3 separate regions of the Homo sapiens genome follow, and regions 1 and 3 are each linked to region 2. The links are contacts of gene promoters, found by promoter capture Hi-C in human tissues and cell types (Jung and others, 2019). All regions are on one chromosome and are shown on one strand. Each heading gives the region's core, a stretch centred on a gene start or on the middle of the fragment in contact. The rest is flanking DNA. Distances are from core to core; before and after follow the strand shown. Region 1 holds the start of CSRNP2 (cysteine and serine rich nuclear protein 2). Region 2 holds the start of DIP2B (disco interacting protein 2 homolog B). Region 3 overlaps SMAGP (small cell adhesion glycoprotein).

Evidence for each region. The method cuts DNA at HindIII sites, captures the fragments that hold promoters and counts their contacts. A contact is called where the count stands out against the background at its distance.
Region 1: a contact is called between the fragment with the promoter of CSRNP2 here and the fragment with the promoter of DIP2B in region 2, in 1 of the 25 tissues and cell types used here (lymphoblastoid cells).
Region 3: a fragment that was not itself captured here is called in contact with the fragment with the promoter of DIP2B in region 2 in 1 of the 25 tissues and cell types used here (hippocampus).

Annotation. Positions count from the first base shown.
Region 1 is chr12:51,082,224-51,084,923 of GRCh38, forward strand. It overlaps CSRNP2 (cysteine and serine rich nuclear protein 2), which reads right to left and starts at 1,373. Exons shown (of 5, transcript NM_030809.3): 1 at 1,116-1,373. RefSeq lists a silencer at 935-1,424 and an enhancer at 1,798-2,424. The HindIII fragment of the contact is 9,557 bases long and covers 1-2,700 here.
Region 2 is chr12:50,503,496-50,506,238 of GRCh38, forward strand. It overlaps DIP2B (disco interacting protein 2 homolog B), which reads left to right and starts at 1,490. Exons shown (of 38, transcript NM_173602.3): 1 at 1,490-1,745. The coding sequence starts at 1,646. RefSeq lists a silencer at 1,793-1,902. The HindIII fragment of the contact is 9,488 bases long and covers 1-2,743 here.
Region 3 is chr12:51,244,930-51,247,629 of GRCh38, forward strand. SMAGP (small cell adhesion glycoprotein) reads right to left here. Exons shown (of 4, transcript NM_001031628.2): 3 at 1,822-1,902; 4 at 1-1,190. The coding sequence ends at 1,012. It also overlaps a transcript of DAZAP2 not described here. Among named protein-coding and RNA genes, the nearest start is that of DAZAP2, 7.5 kb to the left of the region's middle. RefSeq lists an enhancer at 2,520-2,700. The HindIII fragment of the contact is 4,727 bases long and covers 1-2,700 here.

The sequences.
Region 1 (2,700 bases), core at 123-2,622, 580 kb after region 2:
TGAACTTACAAAGCACCCAAGTGAAAACCCCCCGCTTAAGTTAGGTGTTTAAAGAAAGCCGTGCACTCACCACCCCCACTCCCCGATTTTTACCCATTCACTAACACAAGGTTAGAATTTTCCATGCCTAAACTACCATCGTGTGGAAGACAGATCTTTGTGGGAACTGGAACATGATGCTGCATTAACTCTCAAGGATATCCAGTCATTTATAACACCGGCACAACCAACATCCTGGCTTTGTGGATTTGCAAGACAGAAAGCCAGTGAAGAAAAAAATCTGAACTATGAATTTACCTTGAACTGAAAACTGCAGGACAAGGGGACAGTGTTGTCTTGTGGGGATAACTTCTAGCATTTCATTCTGAAGAACAGTTTGTGTGTCACACTGCCACTCTCAACCCCTTTAAAAGGATGAATCAAGACCACAGCACTAAAAGGGACGGGTGGCAGTTGGCTGCGTAATTGGGCCTATGAAAAAAGATCAAGCTAGCAACCAGGGCAATTGATGCTTTCATTTTCCCACACGACGCCAGAAATATGGGAGACATCAGGAACCGGAGCGAAGGGACATGTCAAGTCACCAGTTCCTTTTAATGAACACTCCTGCCGAACCCTTCAGCTCTCGGCCCACTTCCCTCTGATTCCTGCTAACCTTCCCGCTCATTCCAATCCTCTGCAGCCCCTACCCAGCCTTCCGCATCCCTTCCTGCCTGCTACTCACAAATTCCCAACCACTCCTCCCACATTTTCCTCTGTTCCCCCTCCCCTTCCTTCACTTTCCTCCATCCTACATCATTCTCCACTCCATTCCGAACTCAATCCTCATCTGCAATCCTGCAGGCTTCCAAGCCGCCCATCGGTCTCCCGCGAGCTGCCCCCGCAGTCCGGGCCAGCGTCCTCGGTGCCCCTCGCTCCCACGCCTCTTCCCGACTCGGTTCCTTCCCAACGGCACCCGACCTCCCCGCCCCCCGACCGCTCCCGTCCGAGCCTCTCATTTCTGACCCCTCCATCCGCACGGCTCTGGGCTTGACCACTCCTCCACGGCCGCCCGAGGGCCGATCCCGAGAAAGGACGAGGCGGCACCCTCCGCCCCGCACCCCTAGGCCCATTACCGGCCCCGCCGCAGCTGCCTCCTCCCGTGATGGTCTCTGCCGCCCCCGCTGCCGCCGCCGCCCTAGCCCGGTGGGAAGGAGGGAGGAGCGAGCGAGTCCCGGGCCCCGCGGCGACGGCCGGGGAGCTCCCAGGGCGGCAGGGCGGGGAGGGAGGGCGGTGGGCAGCCCAGCCGGCAGGCAGAGAGGGCCGGGCGTCTCCGGCAACTCGGGCGCCCCCGGCAGCAGACGCCCAGAACCGCCCCGGCTCCGGCTAACAATAGGATCCGGCCGCAGCGCACTGGCTCTTATAGGCGCCGGCACGTCCTGACCGAGACCCGGGGCTGGCTGGGAAATGGAGTCTACGGGCCGGCCCACACCCAGCAGCATGCCGGGAGTTGTAGGCGGTAACTGCTGCAAAGCCGAAGCCGGCGCGCAAACCGGCTCCCGAGGCGGCAGCTCTGCTGCAACCTTTTAATGGGGGAAGAGAGGAGACTCAGCTACAGATCTTAAATAAACGAATTCTCCTCCAAAGCTCCCTTTTTCTTTCGTGTCCTGACCACACGCCATTAGGAACATGATCCCCCCTTCTCCTCGCTCATGGGGTCTTAGTCTTCAGCAATATGACTTATTGCAGCCTGCGCAGGTTATAAAGAATACAAGCAATATCTTGAGTTATCTACTTATATGAGGGAGTGCTTTGAGTGTTTTCTTTAAAAAAAAAAAAATTGCTGCCGGGCGCGGTGGCTCACGCCTGTAATCCCAGCACTTTGGGAGGCCGAGGTGGGCGGATCACGAGGTCAGGAGATCGAGACCAACCTGGCTAACAAGGTGAAACCCCGTCTCTACTAAAAAATACAAAAATTAGCCGGGCGTGGTGGCGGGCGCCTGTAGTCCCAGCTACTCGGGAGGCTGAGGCAGGAGAATGGCGTGAACCCGGGAGGCGGAGCTTGCAGTGAGCCGAGATCGCGCCACTGCACTGCAGACTGGGCGAAAGAGCGAGACTCCGTCTCAAAAAAAAAAAAAAAAAAATCTTCTCAACTTTGCAAACTAATTTATTTATTTAAATAGAAAAGGGGTTTTCGCCATGTTGCCCCGGCTGGTCTTGCACTCCTGGGCCCAGGCGATCCGCCCGCCTCGGCCTCCCAAAGTGCTGGGATTATACGCATGAGCCACCGCGCCCTTCCGCAACCTATTTTTAAGAAAGGGCGCCAGGCGCGGTGGCTCATGCCTGTAATCCCAGCACTTTGGGAGGCCGAGGCGGGCGGGTCATGAGGTCAGGAGTTCGAGACCAGCCTGACCAACATGGTGAAACCCTGTCTCTACTAAAAATACAAAAATTAGCCGAGGGTGGTAGCACGTGCCTTTAATCCCAGCTCCTCGGGAGGCCGACCCAGGAGAATGGCTTGAACCCGGGAGGCGGAGGTTGCAGTGAGCCAAGACTGCACCATTGCCCTCCAGCACGGTCAACAAGAGCGAAACTCCGTCTCAAAAAAAAAAAGAAAAAGAAAAAGAAAAAAAAGGGGAAAACCAAGATTAAGAAGTCAAAAGTTGTATGTGATTTGCCAAGGACACATAGCCTTGGTTTCTTCTTTGTTGTCTTTCCCTT
Region 2 (2,743 bases), core at 240-2,739:
GACCACGCCCGGCCTTGACTTTTTTTTTTTTTTTTGAAACAGTTTCACTGCGTTGCCCAGGCTGGAGCGCAGCCGCCATGTTCTCAGCTCACTGTAACCTTGGCCTCCCGGGTTCAAGCGACGTTCCTACCTCAGCTCCCCCAGGTAGCTGGGATTACAGGCATGTGCCACTACTCCCGGCTAATTTTTGTGTTTTTAGTAGAGACGGGGTTTCGCCATGTTGGCCAGGCTGGTCTCGAACTCTTGACCTCAGGTGATCCGCCCACCTTGGCCTCCCAAAGTGCTGGGATCATAGGTGTGAGCCACTGCACCTAGCCTTGGACCCTCTTCATATTAAATTAAAATTAATGTTTTTGGAACACCTATTAGGCCACAGAGTGAGGAGGATGAGTTAAAGTAAGTTCCCTCCTTGTAAGTAGTTAGAAGTATAGAAAGAAAGAAGTGGACCTGCTCTCTATTGTCTTTTTCTTTTCTTTAGACGGAGTGTTTGCTCTCTTGCCCGGGCTGGAGTGCAATGACGCGATCTCAGCTTACTGTAACCTCTGCCTCCTGGGTTCAAGTGATTCTCCTGCCTCAGCCTCTTGAGTAGCTAGGAGTACAGGCATCCGCCACCACGCCCGGCTAATTTTTGTATTTTTATTGGAGACGGGGTTTCACCATGTTGGCCAGGCTGGCCTAGTACTCTTTTTTTTTTTTTTTTGAGTCGGAGTCTCGCGCTCACGCTCAGGCTGGAGTGCAGTGGCGTGATCTTGGCTCACTGCAAGCTCCGCCTCCCGGGTTCACGCCATTCTCCTGCCTCAGCCTCCCGAGTAGCTGGGACTACAGGCGCCCGCCACCACGCCCGGCTAATTTTTTGTACTTTTAGTAGAGACGGGGTTTCACCGTGTCAGCCAGGATGGTCTCGATCTCCTGACTTCGTGATCCACCCGTCTCGGCCTCCCAAAGTGCTGGGATTACAGGCGTGAGCCACCGCGCCCGGTCGGCTAGCCTGGTACTCTTAACCTCAGGTGATCCACCAGCCTCAGCCTCCCAAAGTGCTAGGATTACAGGCGAGAGCCACCGCGCCTGTCTTTTTAAAAGCTAAAACTGAAACGGAAACAGAGCTCCTGGCAGATAGGACCAGGAGCCACAGCGAAGGAGGTGGCCTGTGATTAGGTTTTTATAAATGGGCAGGTATTAATCAGGGAAAATGGAGTAAAGGACACGATAGACATACATTGCTAAGTCTAGTATTGGAAAAAGTAAGGCCTGGGACCCCTAAAAACTTGCTCGAGAGTGAAAGGTAAATGCTATGTGTCCACACTACTGTGGTAAAGCCGACAGTCCATACCATGAGCCCATTTCGCGCAGGGAAATTCGAGTGGTGGGCTTGGGCCCGTCGTTCTGGTAGCTTCCCAGTAGAGGGCGCCGTAAGCATATGCGTCTTCAGCCTGACTGGGCTGGAGAGGCGGTGCGTCCTCCTGGCCGGGGGGCGGGGGCCGTCGCGCTCACGTGACCTTTGCTCATGGCGGCGGCGGCGGCGGCGGCGGTGCTGGTGGTGCTCGGCGGCCGGAGCCGGATCCTGTAGCCGGGTGTGGGCCCGTGTCTGTCCGTCCCTCCTTCGGCCCCCTCTCTTGTCTTCCGGAGTGTGGCTGGCGGAGCTGGGATGGCGGAACGAGGCCTGGAGCCGTCGCCGGCCGCGGTGGCGGCGCTGCCGCCTGAAGTGCGGGCGCAGCTGGCGGAGCTGGAGCTGGAGCTCTCGGAGGGTAGGAGCCGGGCCGGGGAGAGGGCGCCCGGGGCCCTGCGGATCGCGGCGACTTGGGAGACAGGTCCCCGCCGCGCGCTCTGGCGGCCGTGCGGCGAGGGGGACGAGGGTGTAGAGAACCTGGCCTGGCGCTCCACGACCGTTTTCCCTCCTCTCCCACCCCATTAAGTGGTTTCCTGTGGCTTTCATTGTTTTCCCATGGAGGGGACTAAGTAAGGGCTTGTGGAAAGGTCCTCCCGGGCCCACACTGCTTCTGCGCTTCCTGCCCCCCAAAACCCGAGACAAAGCTGCGCCCTCCCGCTTCTGCCCAGGCGTCTGGCCCAGGTGGGGTGAGGGGTAGGGCTGCGAGGAGGGTGGCTGACAGCTTTCTCCTTTCCTCTCCCCTTTTCGTGGAGGGCTCCACGCCTTGTTCCAGCCCCCCCTTCCCCCTTTCAAAAAGAGACACATGGGAAATCCGCAGCATCATTTCTTCTCTTTCCTTTAACAATGCGCGATGCCTCCCCAGTGACAGGAGTGAGACACAAGCGGGTGAGCCATTTAGGGTCCTAGGAAGATAAGAAGCAATGGCATTAACCCAGAGAGACACACGGTGCTGCTTTTAGACCACCTTTGTCATAAGAAGTTTTTTTTTTTCCTGGTGCCTGTTATTCGGGCCGAATTTTCCGCATCTGGTCACCTTTTGGAGTCTTTGATGAAGGAAGGAGAGGAGGCTACCGTTTACTTGCAAATCCTGGCTGGCATTCTTTCTTTTGACAATGGATTGGGACAGGGAGGGTTCGATTTATTTTCAGAATTAAAAAAAAAAAATGGGATAAATCAAGCCACTGTTATTAGAGAACTCCTTGTACAACAATGAGAGAAACACAGTGCTCCGTTGTGGGCATGTGATCAGGCTTCTGGGGCAGTTGTGATCAGTTCTGTGTAAAGTTCCTGTTTTTATCACTGGCTGCCCCTGAGACAAAAGCAGCATTTTCTCCAAGCTTGATACCAGTACTTTGA
Region 3 (2,700 bases), core at 190-2,689, 740 kb after region 2:
TTCTCCTGCCTCAGCCTCCCAAGCAGCTGGGACTATGGGCGCCCGCCACCACGCCCAGCTATTTTTTTTATATATTTTTAGTAGAGACGGGGTTTCACCGTGTTAGCCAGGATGGTCTCGATCTCCTAACCTTGTGATCCGCCTGCCTCGGCCTCCCAAAGTGCTGGGATCACAGGCGTGAGCCACCGAACCCGGCCCTCCCAGGGTATGTTTCTAATGATGTTCCCCTGGAACAAGCTTTCCTGCACCATCTTTGTCTCAAATCCCTGAGATAGTTCTGCAAACTTCTAGAACTTTCCTAGGGTTCTTATTGCTTGGAAGAGAACATATGTAAAGGCGTTAAATAGGGAAAAGAAAATGTCAAAAATGTTTAAGCAAAAATAAGTCAAAATGTAGTTACTTCTTGCACATGAGAATCTGATTTCTGTAGCAATGAAAATTTTTAATTTGAATAAAAATCACGTAAGCATGAGGTTGTTGGGGAACACGGAAAGGAAGGGCTCAGATTAGGGGGTGTAGCACATTTATCAGGAGGTAAGATCTCCATAGTCTCCTACCCCTCCTGGCCTGGCCTTTTACTGTGGTATCCAGCCTCTGGGAAGACCTTGTATGGACAGTATCTCCACTGGGGCTATCACTAGGTGACCAGGTAGGGGACAGAGTAGAGCAGCCAATGACCTTAACTCAAAATCTTTTCTCTCCCTTCAACCTGTGAAAAAAGATGACTGGGCACATACTCAGATGTCCCCTGGCATAGCCACATCTTGTTGGCCAGTCACAAACACCAGCTCTAGTAAGAGGGCCTGGTTAAAGATATCATAAACAGCTTTCTCCATGTCCCTGGTCCCTGGAGTCAGTGATGTCGGCATTTGGGACTGCGACCTGGCTGGAGCTTGGATTTGCCCACATCAATCAATGCTTCTCCCTGGCTTCAGAGAAAACTTTCCCATAATAAGCAGTCAACGTGTTAGCGATGGAGCCAGGAATAAGCTCCTTGGGGCCTGGGAGTCATTAGATGAAATATTCCTCTTTCTCGCTGCCCTTGGCCAAGTCACTCTCCATCTGGACGATGGCACTGGGCTCACCTTCTGTAGGTTCATAGGTGACGTAGCTGCCTTTGTTCTTGTACAGGTAAAAGAAGATCAAGATCACGACCGAGAGCAGGGTGAGGAAGACAACGGTGATAACAACTTGGAAAGGAGAGGGAAAATGTAGAGATGTTTCAGGATTGAGGATGTCTCAGTAGTTCCTGGAGTCATCTGATTTAGTCACTGTTTTCGTAAAGATCCTCTTGTTTTCATTAACTAGTGTCCACTTCCATCCAAACCCATGTTCCCCCACCAACCCCAATTTCCATGGCACATAATAGCTGGAGTCTCCTGGTGCTTAAGCTAAGGACACATGCTTTTGATTTCTGACAAAACTGAACTGCCTCCCAAACCAGTTCCTGATTCTTAAAGAAACGGGAAGGAGGGAACAGGAAATGGCTTATCCTAACAGGAAGTGGTTTATCTGATCCTCCCCCTCTTCCTCACCCACTCAACCAACCACATATATCCTCGTCCCTACCCACGTACTCAAGTGTAACGTCCGTATGCATATCTATTTGCGGCCACCTCCCAACCTGTCATTTACTGGTAGTGCCTCTGACAGAAGCCTCCGAGTCTTTTATGGCTGTGTGTGTGTGTGTGTGTGTGTGTGTGTGTGTGTAATATAACTTACAAGCCAGAGTGAGCCCATTAATGGATTTGGTCAGGCTCCCTCTGGAGAGAGATGCCCTTGATCCAGAAGGTCCCTTGGAGTTGGCTCAGAGTCTATTACCTGCAATGAGTGCTGTGCTGGCTCCATCTTCTGGGGACAGGGCCTCAGTGGGCTGTAAAATTGGGGTGGTCATCAGTTCTTCTGGAAAATGTAGAAAAGTGGAAAAGGAAATGGAGTGAATTCTTTTGTTTGAAAGCATATGTTTGGCCTTCAAATTTCACCACCCCACCTTCTTCCCTATTCAAAAGTTTATCATTTAACTCCTAGAGTATATCCAAATAGAAAATCCTAGAGAATAAAGAAGAAAATAAACCACCACCCAAAGACAATATGTTGATGGATTTCTCCCTGCATAATATAGTGATTAAGAGTAGGGGCTATAGAGCCTGACAGACTGGGTTTCAAATATGAACTCTGTCCTTTACTAGCTGTGTGACCTTGGGAAAATTACCTAACCTCTATCTGCAAAATGGAGGTAAGAGTACCTACTTTAAAACGTTGTTGTGACATTTAATAAGTCACTCAGTAGGATAAGCCATTATTAGGAATGCATATTTTTACAATAAGTGAGATCAAATGAGTTGTATGTGTATATATTTACATTATATTATATAGCATGTGCATTTTCTTGCAGCATTCTTACTAATTCTTTGTAAACATTATTTTAACATAATGAAATAGTGCTCCTCTCCTATTAAAAACCCTTTTCTACACTTCCAGGATAGGCCCTGCAATTTGAAAGGTTCTGAAACAGGCCTCTCCTCTACCCTAAAATAGATCCTGCACCCCCTCCTGCTACGGGTTTATTTATCCTTCAGAGCGTGAAAGTCCCACCCTAAAGTCATTACCCAGGGACAGAACATGACAAAATGAGTGGTCTCCAGAAGTCCCTTTTAAGTGTTTACACAGGAAGTCAGGAAGCCCTTCCATTCTTTCCTA